Linked DNA regions of Homo sapiens: region 2 is linked to region 1. The links are contacts of gene promoters, found by promoter capture Hi-C in blood cells and fetal thymus (Javierre and others, 2016). All regions are on one chromosome and are shown on one strand. Each heading gives the region's core, a stretch centred on a gene start or on the middle of the fragment in contact. The rest is flanking DNA. Distances are from core to core; before and after follow the strand shown. Region 1 holds the start of CADM3 (cell adhesion molecule 3). Region 2 has its middle 4.4 kb from the start of ACKR1.

What was found. The method cuts DNA at HindIII sites, captures the fragments that hold promoters and counts their contacts. A CHiCAGO score of 5 or more calls a contact.
Region 2: a contact is called between a fragment that was not itself captured here and the fragment with the promoter of CADM3 in region 1, in 1 of 17 cell types (megakaryocytes). The highest score is 6.2, in megakaryocytes.

Annotation. Positions count from the first base shown.
Region 1 is chr1:159,169,384-159,174,570 of GRCh38, reverse strand. CADM3 (cell adhesion molecule 3) reads right to left here and starts at 2,956. Exons shown (of 9, transcript NM_001127173.3): 1 at 2,718-2,956. The coding sequence starts at 2,805. RefSeq lists an enhancer at 3,319-3,819. The HindIII fragment of the contact is 6,448 bases long and covers 1,937-5,187 here.
Region 2 is chr1:159,206,693-159,211,879 of GRCh38, reverse strand. No RefSeq gene overlaps it. Among named protein-coding and RNA genes, the nearest start is that of ACKR1, 4.4 kb to the right of the region's middle. The HindIII fragment of the contact is 1,947 bases long and covers 1,220-3,166 here.

The sequences.
Region 1 (5,187 bases), core at 1,707-4,206:
CAGCACATTAAGTTTGTTTTCCTTATTTTAAATGGGAATAGGTATGCTACCACAACACCCTTGACAATTCAAACATCACCATAAGAGTATCTTGTCCTTAAACCTTCCCACCACATCTCTCATAGTTTTGGTCAAACATTACCAGTTAAGATACATATACATATTGCCTAGTTCTCTTCCTAGGGGCCCCAGGCCAACTCAGGGGTACGAAACACATGTCCATGATTGTGTGCAAAATAGTCTTCAGGATTACTGTCCGTGAGCATTAAATCTATGCATTTACCTCCCACCATCAGCACTGGCCTTCTTAGATCCAGAAACTAAAAGATAGAATTAATTTAAGACAGAAGATATGGTGGTTATGTCTCATGCATCAGTGTGTCCTGAGATACTGCACACCAGACAGATGTCCATTATCTGTAAAGATAATGCTCTTCAAGGAAAATGATGCTTGGTTTGACTCTTCTTTGGAAACAGACCCCTCCTGTTCATCTCCCACTTCCCCACCTCTTCTCTAGAAATTCCCCATTCAGAAGTTACTGCTTTCCACTGTTTCTCTCAGGCCACTGCTCTGAAGCATATTTCTAAATATGAGGATGTAACATTTCTCTTCCTCTCAACTTTAAGCCTGAATAGGGGCTGAACCCCCAGTTTGAGGACCAAGAAAGAAGAGTGTAGTTGGTGAAGAAAGACTTGGCTAGTATACTGATTTACTCTAGTCTATAGTTTTTTTTTACATCTTAGAGTAGAAGAGCTCACAGCTTTCTGGATGACGTCTTTCTCTCTTTTTGGGGCCCAGCCTAGCACCATCAGTTCCCATTGCTGAACAGTTGCAGTTTGGATCATATTTGCCTCTCGTCATAAAACTCAGCAGGTTAGGAAGGCCAGGGGCTGCAGTTGAAAGTCAAGGCCTAGTAGCAGGGTCATTAATGAAGCACAAACACCCAGCAGCCTCTCTGTCGTGCACTTAGCCTGCTCTCCCCAAGGACTCCCTTCAGCTCCTCAGTGAGTGGGGTCATCAGTGCAGTCCTCTGGGGAAGGGGATTCCACGTAGGGGAAAGGAGAGGCTGCTGTCTCTGTGGTGACTAGGGCGGGAACTCCCTTTGGGGAGTTTGATGGGTAGAGGGCAGAAGGAGTAAGCCAGCCAGCCAACTATAGGGAGGGGATCCCCAGGGTCCCCATACCAGGGGAAGCTCCTTTATCACGATGGAGACAGGGATGGGGGAGGTCAGGCGAGGTGGAGCGATTATTCCTCCAGCACCCTGGCTCTTCGCCTGTTTTCCTCAGATGAAATTCTCTACATCATCCTTCCCAGTTTCAACCCCTCCCCTCTCCACCCCCGCCCCGCCCTGTGCCCATCCCTGCTGGCCACTGGGTCCATCGCCCAGGAGCCACCTCCCCTTTCTCCTCCCCTGCGGTTCTTTCTGTTTTTCGTTGGCATCTGGCCGGGCATAGCCACCACCCTCCCCCTTCACTCTCCCCACTTCCCTTTGCTCCACAGAGGTCCTGTTCCCTCTCCCCCTTCCTCCATCCCAGCCCTCCTCCTCTTCCGACAGGGCGGTGGGGGGAGGAGGATGCATTCCTTCAGTCTCTTCACAGCCTGCCCTCCCTCCTCAGGGACCTGAGGCTCGGAGCTGTGGACCCCTTCCGGGTTTCCCTACAGGCTGCCCCTCTGGCATCCCACTAACCGTTAGTAGCCTTTAAGAAAGCTGAGGTGCCCCCACAGCGCTGACCTACATAGCCCGGCCCAGGGCGGGAGGGGCTCTTCCCCAAGTCCCCTCACCCCTGGCCCCGCCTCCTTTCTCCCCCGACTCCCTTCCTTCATCTCTCTACCATTAGGAACCAGCGAAGGTTTGAGTTCCAGACTGGGGCAAAGGGGCTAGGTATGCTACCCCATCCCAAATTTGGGAAAATCAGTGCTTAGCCCAGGAAAGCTTTGGGTTTCTCATGCATCCTCCTCCCCAAATATCTTGATTCTTTCTTTTGCGCTCCCCCCTACCCCCACCCCGCCTCTGCTCCTGTCGGATTTCTTTTCCCAGCTTCTACCACTGCCAGGGATATTGCCATCCTGGGCCCCCTCCGCCCTGTGTTGTTGTTTTGCTCCAAGGATAAGGGCCCTCTTCTTTGCCCACGCCCCCTTCAGCAGCCTCACCCAGGCCCCCTTCTCTGCCCACTCGGAGCTGCGCCGCGGGTGGTGGGGGACGGGCGGGGGAGCAGAAATGTTTGCATACAGCAGTTTGGGGGATTGCACTGGCTACCCAACCCCTACAGACATACATACACAAACACCCGACACACGCCCTGACTGAAACAGCGACAAATCTCACTCCGCCCCCAACACACACTGACACAGACATACACACAGATACTGACACAGAAACGCAGAGCCAGACACCAACACAGACGCGCGCGCACACGGACAGCAACACATCCAGACCCCGGGCTGCTCCTAACGGACATCAGCCCCGAGAGCCAAACCCCGGTGCACACGCAGACACACGCTCAGTGGTGTACACAGAAGGGTGCACACACCGGCACACCCACAGTCCACAGAGACACGGATGCTCAGAGACAGACACAAGGGTATTAGCAGCGGCTGGTGACTTTAACCCCGGTTCCAAACAAAGCCAACAGGCTCCTTCCGCGAGACTCCCGATCCCAGCCCCCGCCTCGGGTCACTCCCCACCTCCCCAGGCGCCGCCCCCTCCCTCACTCACCGTCCTGGGAGAGGTTGGCCCCGCCGGGCGCCCAGCAGCAGGCGAACAGCAGGAGCAGGAGCAGGAGCGAGGCGGCTGGGGCCCCCATCGCGCTTCCCGGCCGGCTCCCTGGCTGGGCGCTGGCGAGCCTGAATCCCCGGGGGCTGGGGATGGGGAGGGGGTGGACTACGATGTTGACCGAAAGGGCGCCCCCGAGCCGCTTCGGAGCCCGGGGCCGAGGTGGGGACCGGGAGGGAGCCGGCGCTGCTGCAGTCGCGGGGATTAAATAGGGCGCTCGGAGCAAACCATTTGGTTGGAGGTGGAGGGGGTTTGGCGGGGGGCTGGGCTGGTCGCGGGGGGGCCAGGCTGCCGCATTCCCCACACCCCCCGCCTCCCACACCCCCTCCTTGCCTTCGTGGTGCCTTCCACCCTCTCCCCCGGGAGCTCGGCCAGCCGGGCTCGGGTGTGGATCAGAGGGAGGGAGCTGGCTCAGCAGTGGGACCCTGCGCTCACCCCTCTTAGGCTTGGGGTGGAGGGAGGGGAGTCGGACAGGGCCATGGGCCAGCTGGCGAGTGCAGCCACTGCAGGCCTGGGCAAGGGCGTGCTCACTAGCCTGAGGTCCTCCAGCTCCGCCCTCCATCCTTTGGCAACTGGGGATCCCCTTAAGCCCTGGGGTCCCCCACCAACCATGTACCCAGGGACATCTCTCCAGTGGATAACTACTAACTCTCAGCCTTCTCCTAAACGCTAACATCCCTAATTCCTCTTACCCAAGAGCCCATAGTTATCTGTCCAGCAACAATTTGTGGCCCCTGGCCTTAAGCCCTGGGGTCCCCCTATCAACAGTGTACCCAGGGACACCTGTCCAGTGGATAATTGCTAACTCTCATCATTTTCCTAAACCCTAACATCCCTGATTCCTCTTACCCAAGAGCCCATAGTTATCTGTCCAGCAACAATTCGTGGCCCCAGGCAATCTCCCTTGAAAGGCATTTTCCAACAAACTCCCAGGCCTTGGGAACCAATGTCTCCCTCAATCTCATGTCAAGGAAATAACTCACCCTCTGAAAACATGATTTCACCCCAGACTCTTGCCCAATCTGGCAGCCTAACAAAGCAACTCAGTCGTTTTCTTTCTTAACCCTCCCTATTACATCTCTTTAACCCCCGGTCCCTTTCTCCAATACGTTTTCTTCTTTCTTGTTCTTTTGCAGATCTCGCCCATCTCAAGTTTGAGTTAGTAAGGTTCATGGATGAAGAGTCTGATCTAGAAACCCTCCAAGGACCCCTGCGTCTGTGACCAAAGCTGCTGTCAATCCTGAGGCCAGATATAACAAGATGAGAGATGCAGGGTGTTTGTACTTGGTCTTGGCTTAAGTGTCCCAAGTCCCTGGTGTTTGCCATTCTTTGTGACTGAGTATCTCCGAGTCTTGATATATCTCAGAAAGGGATCTTTCTAAATCAGTTTTACTGAAACTTAGCTTTTGGAAATACATTTCTAAATGTTAGAATTCTAGAATAAAATGATATTAGATATCTAAGAATTCTTAGAAAATGTCTATTCCAACCCCTTAATTATATAGGTACAACTGAGGCTCAAAGGAGGCTAACTGAACCAAGGTTACACTGACAGTTAATAGTAGAAGACACAAGTGTTGGCTGGGATGTGCAACAATATGATTTTAAAGTGTCTTCCAATCCTGTGAGGCTAATATTTTATCCCTAGATGAGGGATTTGGGTGCATGTCTTCTAACTCTTAGACCAGCTCTCTTTGTCTGCTAATGACTGTCTCACTGGGCTAATCCTTAATGTTTGGGTAATCTTTCCTTCTTGAAAACAGAGTTTTTCAGCCCTCTGTGATGTAGTTAATGTCTCTGTCACCCAGAAACTCACGGGCAGGGGTGTGGAAAGTACTTGGTTACCAGTAAAGTCCTATATAAATTACAAGCAATGATGGAGAGGTCAGGGGAAATATTCCCCAGGGAAATCCTTCTGGATTGTCAGGATGCTGCCCCACAGTTTTTCTCTTAGGGTTGTTAGAGTTGATGGTTTCTGGGAGAAGAGTTCTGCCTGCCTCTTGGACATTTCTTGAGTGCCTGGATAGTTAAGATTTTCTTGCAGGGAAGTGTTGACCATCTTTGGCTGTCTGACTTGCCTGACTTGATATATCTCAGTGACTCCAGACCATTCTGTCTCCTAGGGTTTGTTGATATCTTGGAATCTCCAAAAAGTGAAAATAAAGGGGGTACTATATTTGAGGGGTGTGGAAACCTGGATGTAAGAGAGAGAAGAGGCTGGGCTAGGGAGTGGGGGAGAGATATAGGAAAGATTGAACTTTCCCACAGAGGTGGGGCCATGTTGGCATGAAGTTAGTTATGCAGAGAGCAGGCAGTAATGTGGGTGTTTTCAAAACAAATCAGCTTCAGAAGAGAAAGATCAGACTACCCTAGTTAAAGCGTCTTAGTGGATAAAGAGTATTATCTTTGCAGC
Region 2 (5,187 bases), core at 944-3,443, 38 kb before region 1:
TGTGTATGATTCATTTCCAAGTATTCCAGTACTTTCACTAGCATCTTGAATGTAGTGGATACTCAACAAATTCTTTAAATGAAATTAATTATACACCCCTAAGTGCCTTAAAGGGCGATCCTGTTCCCAAAACTGCAGAGACATCAATTGCCACAGGGGGGCGACAGAGGCCAGAAGGTGAGAGTAGGAACCAGCGTTCACAGGTGGGGAAGGGGTAGGGTTGGAAGGGGAGCTAAGTTGAAACTAAAAGGAAGGAGAGAAGACCGAAGAAAAAAAAAATCAGCATGGTGACTTTTCGGTCCAAGGGGGGTAGTGGGCTCTCCCTGAGAATGATGCAATCTGAGGAGGTGGCTGGACTATGAATTTGATTCCGAGCCAGTGAAGGACTTTGTCTCCCAGAACTCTGGGGGAGTCTCAGTGACTCACTTTTCCTCAAGCAAAGATGAAAAATGACAACCTTTCCCAGTTTTCCCCTGCTGGCCAAAAACCCGGCAGTATCCCAAAGGAAAGGAAGCATTGTTTCTTTAATGCGTGGTTCAGGAACTGTGGTGAAGTCCTCAGCTCCAGTCAGCCATGAATTGACACAAAAAAACAGGTTCACAGGCCGGAAATCTACAGAAGATTCTCCAGCCTCTTCAGCCCCCAGACACTGGAATGACATGGGAGAGGCTCTGGAGGACTTAGGGAGAAGAGGTCAGTTTTCTGCATCAATTATTTGCTTACTTGTTCCTCTTCCCTCTCTGGACTGTGAATGTTCCAGTGTGGCCAATGAATCTTTATTCATGAAATTAACTTGGGTATTTAGTAGATGTTTCCTGAGCTCTGATCATGTGCCAGTCAGCGAAAGGACTCTTGCATGGTTGAAGTTTCTTTTCTAGTGTTGGAGGGAGGAGGTAGACGAGCAGTAAACTGATAAGCAAATAAACGAATAAATAAAATTTTAACATGTGATAAATGCTACAGTGGAAACATCCGAGGTGAACTGGTAGAGAATAATTGGGTGTGGCATGGCCAGGCTACATTCCACTGGATGTCAGGGAAGGTCACTCTTGAGGGAGGTGATATTTGCACAGAGACCCCAAGGACGAGAAGTTGTTGGTCATATAAAGAGCACAGGAAGGAGCTTTTGGGGCAGAAGAGATATCAAGTGCAAAGACTCTTAGAGTGGAAAACAGATTTGCTCCTTCAAAGAACAAAATTCACCCGTGAGCATAAAGCTTCTTGAGCTGTGGGGAGACAAGGCCACCAGCTAATCGTGGAAGTGCTGTCAGAGGGTACAGAAACACTCAGGATTAACTTAAATGCAGTAGCGAAGAACTAGATGCCAAATTTAGGGTATAATATTGGATTTTTGTAAAGAGTAAGTTTATTACTATCACTGGATTTTCTAAGAGGCCTATAACCCTCCTCCTATCCCGTAAACATTAGCAATACCCTATTTAGAGGAAAAAGACTAGGTCCATGCTCTTAGAAAGACTAGAAAGATGAAAGGTACAGTTTGGAGCTACATACAATGTATTTTTGCATGATACGGAGAACTACCCAGGAAAAAAAAATACAGTTATCTTTGAAGAGGGCAAGGGTGAAACTTGACACGTTATCTGGGAAACCAAAGGCAGTAGGCAACTTTTTTTTTTTTTTTTTTTGAGATGGAGTCTCACTCTGTCGCTCAGGCTGGAGTGCAGTGGCGCGATCTCGGCTTACTGCAAGCTCCACCTCCCGGGTTCACAAGCAGTAGGCAACTTTAAATGACCACAGATGTGGTAGGAACATATAGAGAAAGCTGAGGACAAATGGCATTGATGGGGAAGTTGAGACTTTCATGCTAGAAACCAAGTTTGCAAACAATCAGGCAATGATTTTGAGATACTAGAGAGCTATAAGAACTTAATCTTCTCATTTATAAAAATGTATCCAAAAGATTTCCTAAATCTAAGTGCAACATAAAGATGTCTGATACATCCCCTTAAAATGATGTTCCCGCCGGGCGCGGTGGCTCACGCCTGTGATCCCAGCACTTTGGGAGGCTGAGGCAGGTGGATCACCTGAAGTCAGAGTTCGAGACCAGGCTGGCCAAACTGGTGAGACCCCCCCGTCTCTACTAAAAATACAAAAAATTAGCCTGGCGTGGTGGTGCACACCTGTAATCCCAGCTACTCAGGAGGCTGAGGCAGGAGAATCACTTGAACCTGGGAGGCGGAGGTTGCAGTGAGCCAAGATTGCACCACTACACTCCAGCCTGGGCAACAGAGTGAGACTCTGTCTCAAAAAAAAAAAAAAAAAAAGAAGATGTTCTCAAAATCCCCCAACCAATTTTCCAGAGCCAGTCTCTTAGAGAGTTTCTCTTCCCTTCACCAAATAGTTACAGGAAAGAAGAAAGCTAACGTGCATTTTTGCAGAAATGATGCTTAAACACTCCCCATCCCTCCCTGTGTTCCCCACACCCTTCCTGCCCAAATCACCTAGATGTCTAGAGATGATTTGGAAGGACTTGGACTTGTTAATTAACCTAAACAGTCGCATTCGTCAGCAAGGTGCATTATTGTTAATTAAAACTCCGATTCTCCTTGTGCCCAGACGGCGGGCTGCTGTTGTCAGAATAATTAGATAGCATACGATGGTTTTCATGCAAATCTCTGGCAATTAGAGTTGGCGATGAATTGGGTTTGAAATCCCAGTGAAGTTCTCAATCAGAATTCCTCTGAGGGAGGAAGGTGGTGATGGGGTTGGGGGATAGGGAAATAGGAATGGAAAAAGGGTGTGAGGACCAAGTATTTGTTTTCTAAATCCTAAGGGAGGGGCCTCAGCTTGGAATAAATGAACTATGAGCGTCAATGTGATGTTCAAACTTCCCTTGAATAATAGATCTCTCTCCTTTAGAAAGCAAAGCAAACTGACCTTCCTCAGGGTCCTGTGTTTTCCCAAGAGCTTGCTTCCCTGGCTCTCATCTTTCTGAGAGGATTTTTTTCTTTAGCTAGGATGCCCAATATCTCATACACAGCTAAAGTCCCTGCCAACCCTAAGATTAAATTCTTAAGGGCTTTAAGGAGACAGGATTTGTATTCCTGAAGGGTTGCAGAAAAGATGCCAGACTCAGACCAATTTTAGAGTGGTTGATGGCATGCAGTGGGTTAAATGCATGGGGTGGCAGGTCCCCAAGAAAGCTTTAAAGAAATGACTGAGGTCCGGGTTAGACTTAAGGAGGAGCTCTCCAAGTGCTGCCTAGGTAATGGCAGGGAAAGGGCAGCCCAAAAGGCCTGGAGCAATCCCGGTGGGGGTGGGGATGAGGAGGATGTAGCAGGGGGCGGGGGTAGGGCACTGTCTCCAGCCCACCCTAACCTCTTAGCAGCTTCGGGCTTCTGCAGCTGCCTTTCCCTTGTGAAAGCCATGAGAGCTGCCAAGCTATTACCCAGGAGTCTGGGGTTCTCTCTAACTGGACTGACTGACCAGGGATTTCTATCCAGAGGCACAGGGTTGGGGGCAGATAAGACAAGCCTACTGGTCTTAAATTAAGCCTCCCTTGCATCAGGTTGACACTGGAAGATTCAGGGAGTCAAAAACGCCCTCTCCTCCCCCTCAACTAGGTCAGCTTCCAAATCAGTACCTTGTAAGGGAGGACAGCAACATCTGGTAGAATTGCAAGAGTGGTCAAGGACGGGAGGGGGATATTGAGAGAAGCCTGGAAAAAAAAAAGCGGGGGAAAAAATACTAGAACACATTCATGAACTGTGGTTGGAAACCAGAGCATAATTTAGGTTTGTAAATTATTTCCTTTCTCTTCATTTTCTCTCCCTTCCTTTCTGTTTCAGAATGTCTCCCGCGTCTCAATCGGTCCCTAAATCCCGCCTTTCAATTGAGGACGAACCAATCAGGAGCTAACCTGGTGGTTGCTAAGAGACAGGAGGTGGGAGATTTAGAGGCCTTGTCGTGGCACCCACCCAGGAAAATTCCCTAAGCCTTTTGCACCCTCCTGCCTAAGCTATTCTAACTCATCTCTGCACCTCTCCCGCACTCGCCTACTATTCCCAAGCCCAGAGAGTCAAGCAGAAACATTTTAGTAAAGAAACCAGGTATAGCATATCTTTGGAAAATGGTAAGATGGTAATTGGGTTCAAACTGATAGAACGTATCTGCTCAAGTTTCCCCAGCCTTTAGTTGGGTTAGAGGTAGGAACTAACTGTTTTGTAGCCTCTTGGGTAGAGGGTGAATTTGCTCTTGGTGGTAAAAGCTGTGCCCCTGATGAGGAGGGGTTTCTGTCCTTCCAGCCATCTAAACTTGGGTAGGTAGAGACTGAGAAAAATCTCAAAGGTCATGATTAAGCAGCCAGAGAATCAGGGGTTGGGAAAAAGGTGCCCAGGGGATTGGGGTATTGTGTGGAAGGTGGAAGGAAAGATGTATGTGGGAAATAAAGGTTTATTTCAAAAGCTGAGATTCTGAAAGGGAAATTCGGGGAATTCCAAGCAGAAGATGAATCAAATCAGGGCCTCCCCCTTCAAGTTTCTCCACCCTTCACAACTTCTTGATCTTTTCTTCCCTCCACACATCCTACACAGAAAAGACTAGGCTTAAAAACCAGGGTAAAGAAAACTCATTTGGGTAAGGAGTGAGTCATAAATCCCGATTCTATATCCTGTGAACAGGGATGAGTGCAGAATTGAGTGGGGGTTTGGGTCCTGAGAAAAGTCAGTGCACACGCACAGGTGTGCGCAGTTCAGGTGCTGACAGAGATGCAAGCTCATGGGTGGACATATGTTTTTACATGCATACATCTAACATAAAGGTAGATTCTAACAGATCGAGAAACAGATGTGTACACACACACACACACACACACGCACGCACATTCAGGTCATGCTGAGGAACCTGGGAGAGATGACTCCCAGGAAGTGGCTTTTTAAATTACCTTGATATGTTCCCTGAACTGAGTAACATCCCCTGGGATGCTTCTTTCACCTTCCCCACCACTGTCCTAATCACTAAACAAAGCCAGAGAGGAGACAGAAGACAGAGGCTGGGCAGGTTGGACAGGGGGAGGTGGTATTGCTCTGGGCTTTGTCATCACTCTTCACTGTTTATCTCTCAGTTTGAGTTCCTATTCCATTTGCTTCCCAGAACAGCTTTTTTTCCAGCTAAGCCATCCCTTCTGTTTTTTTTGGTTTAATGACTCCCCTCATGCTCTGGTTCCTC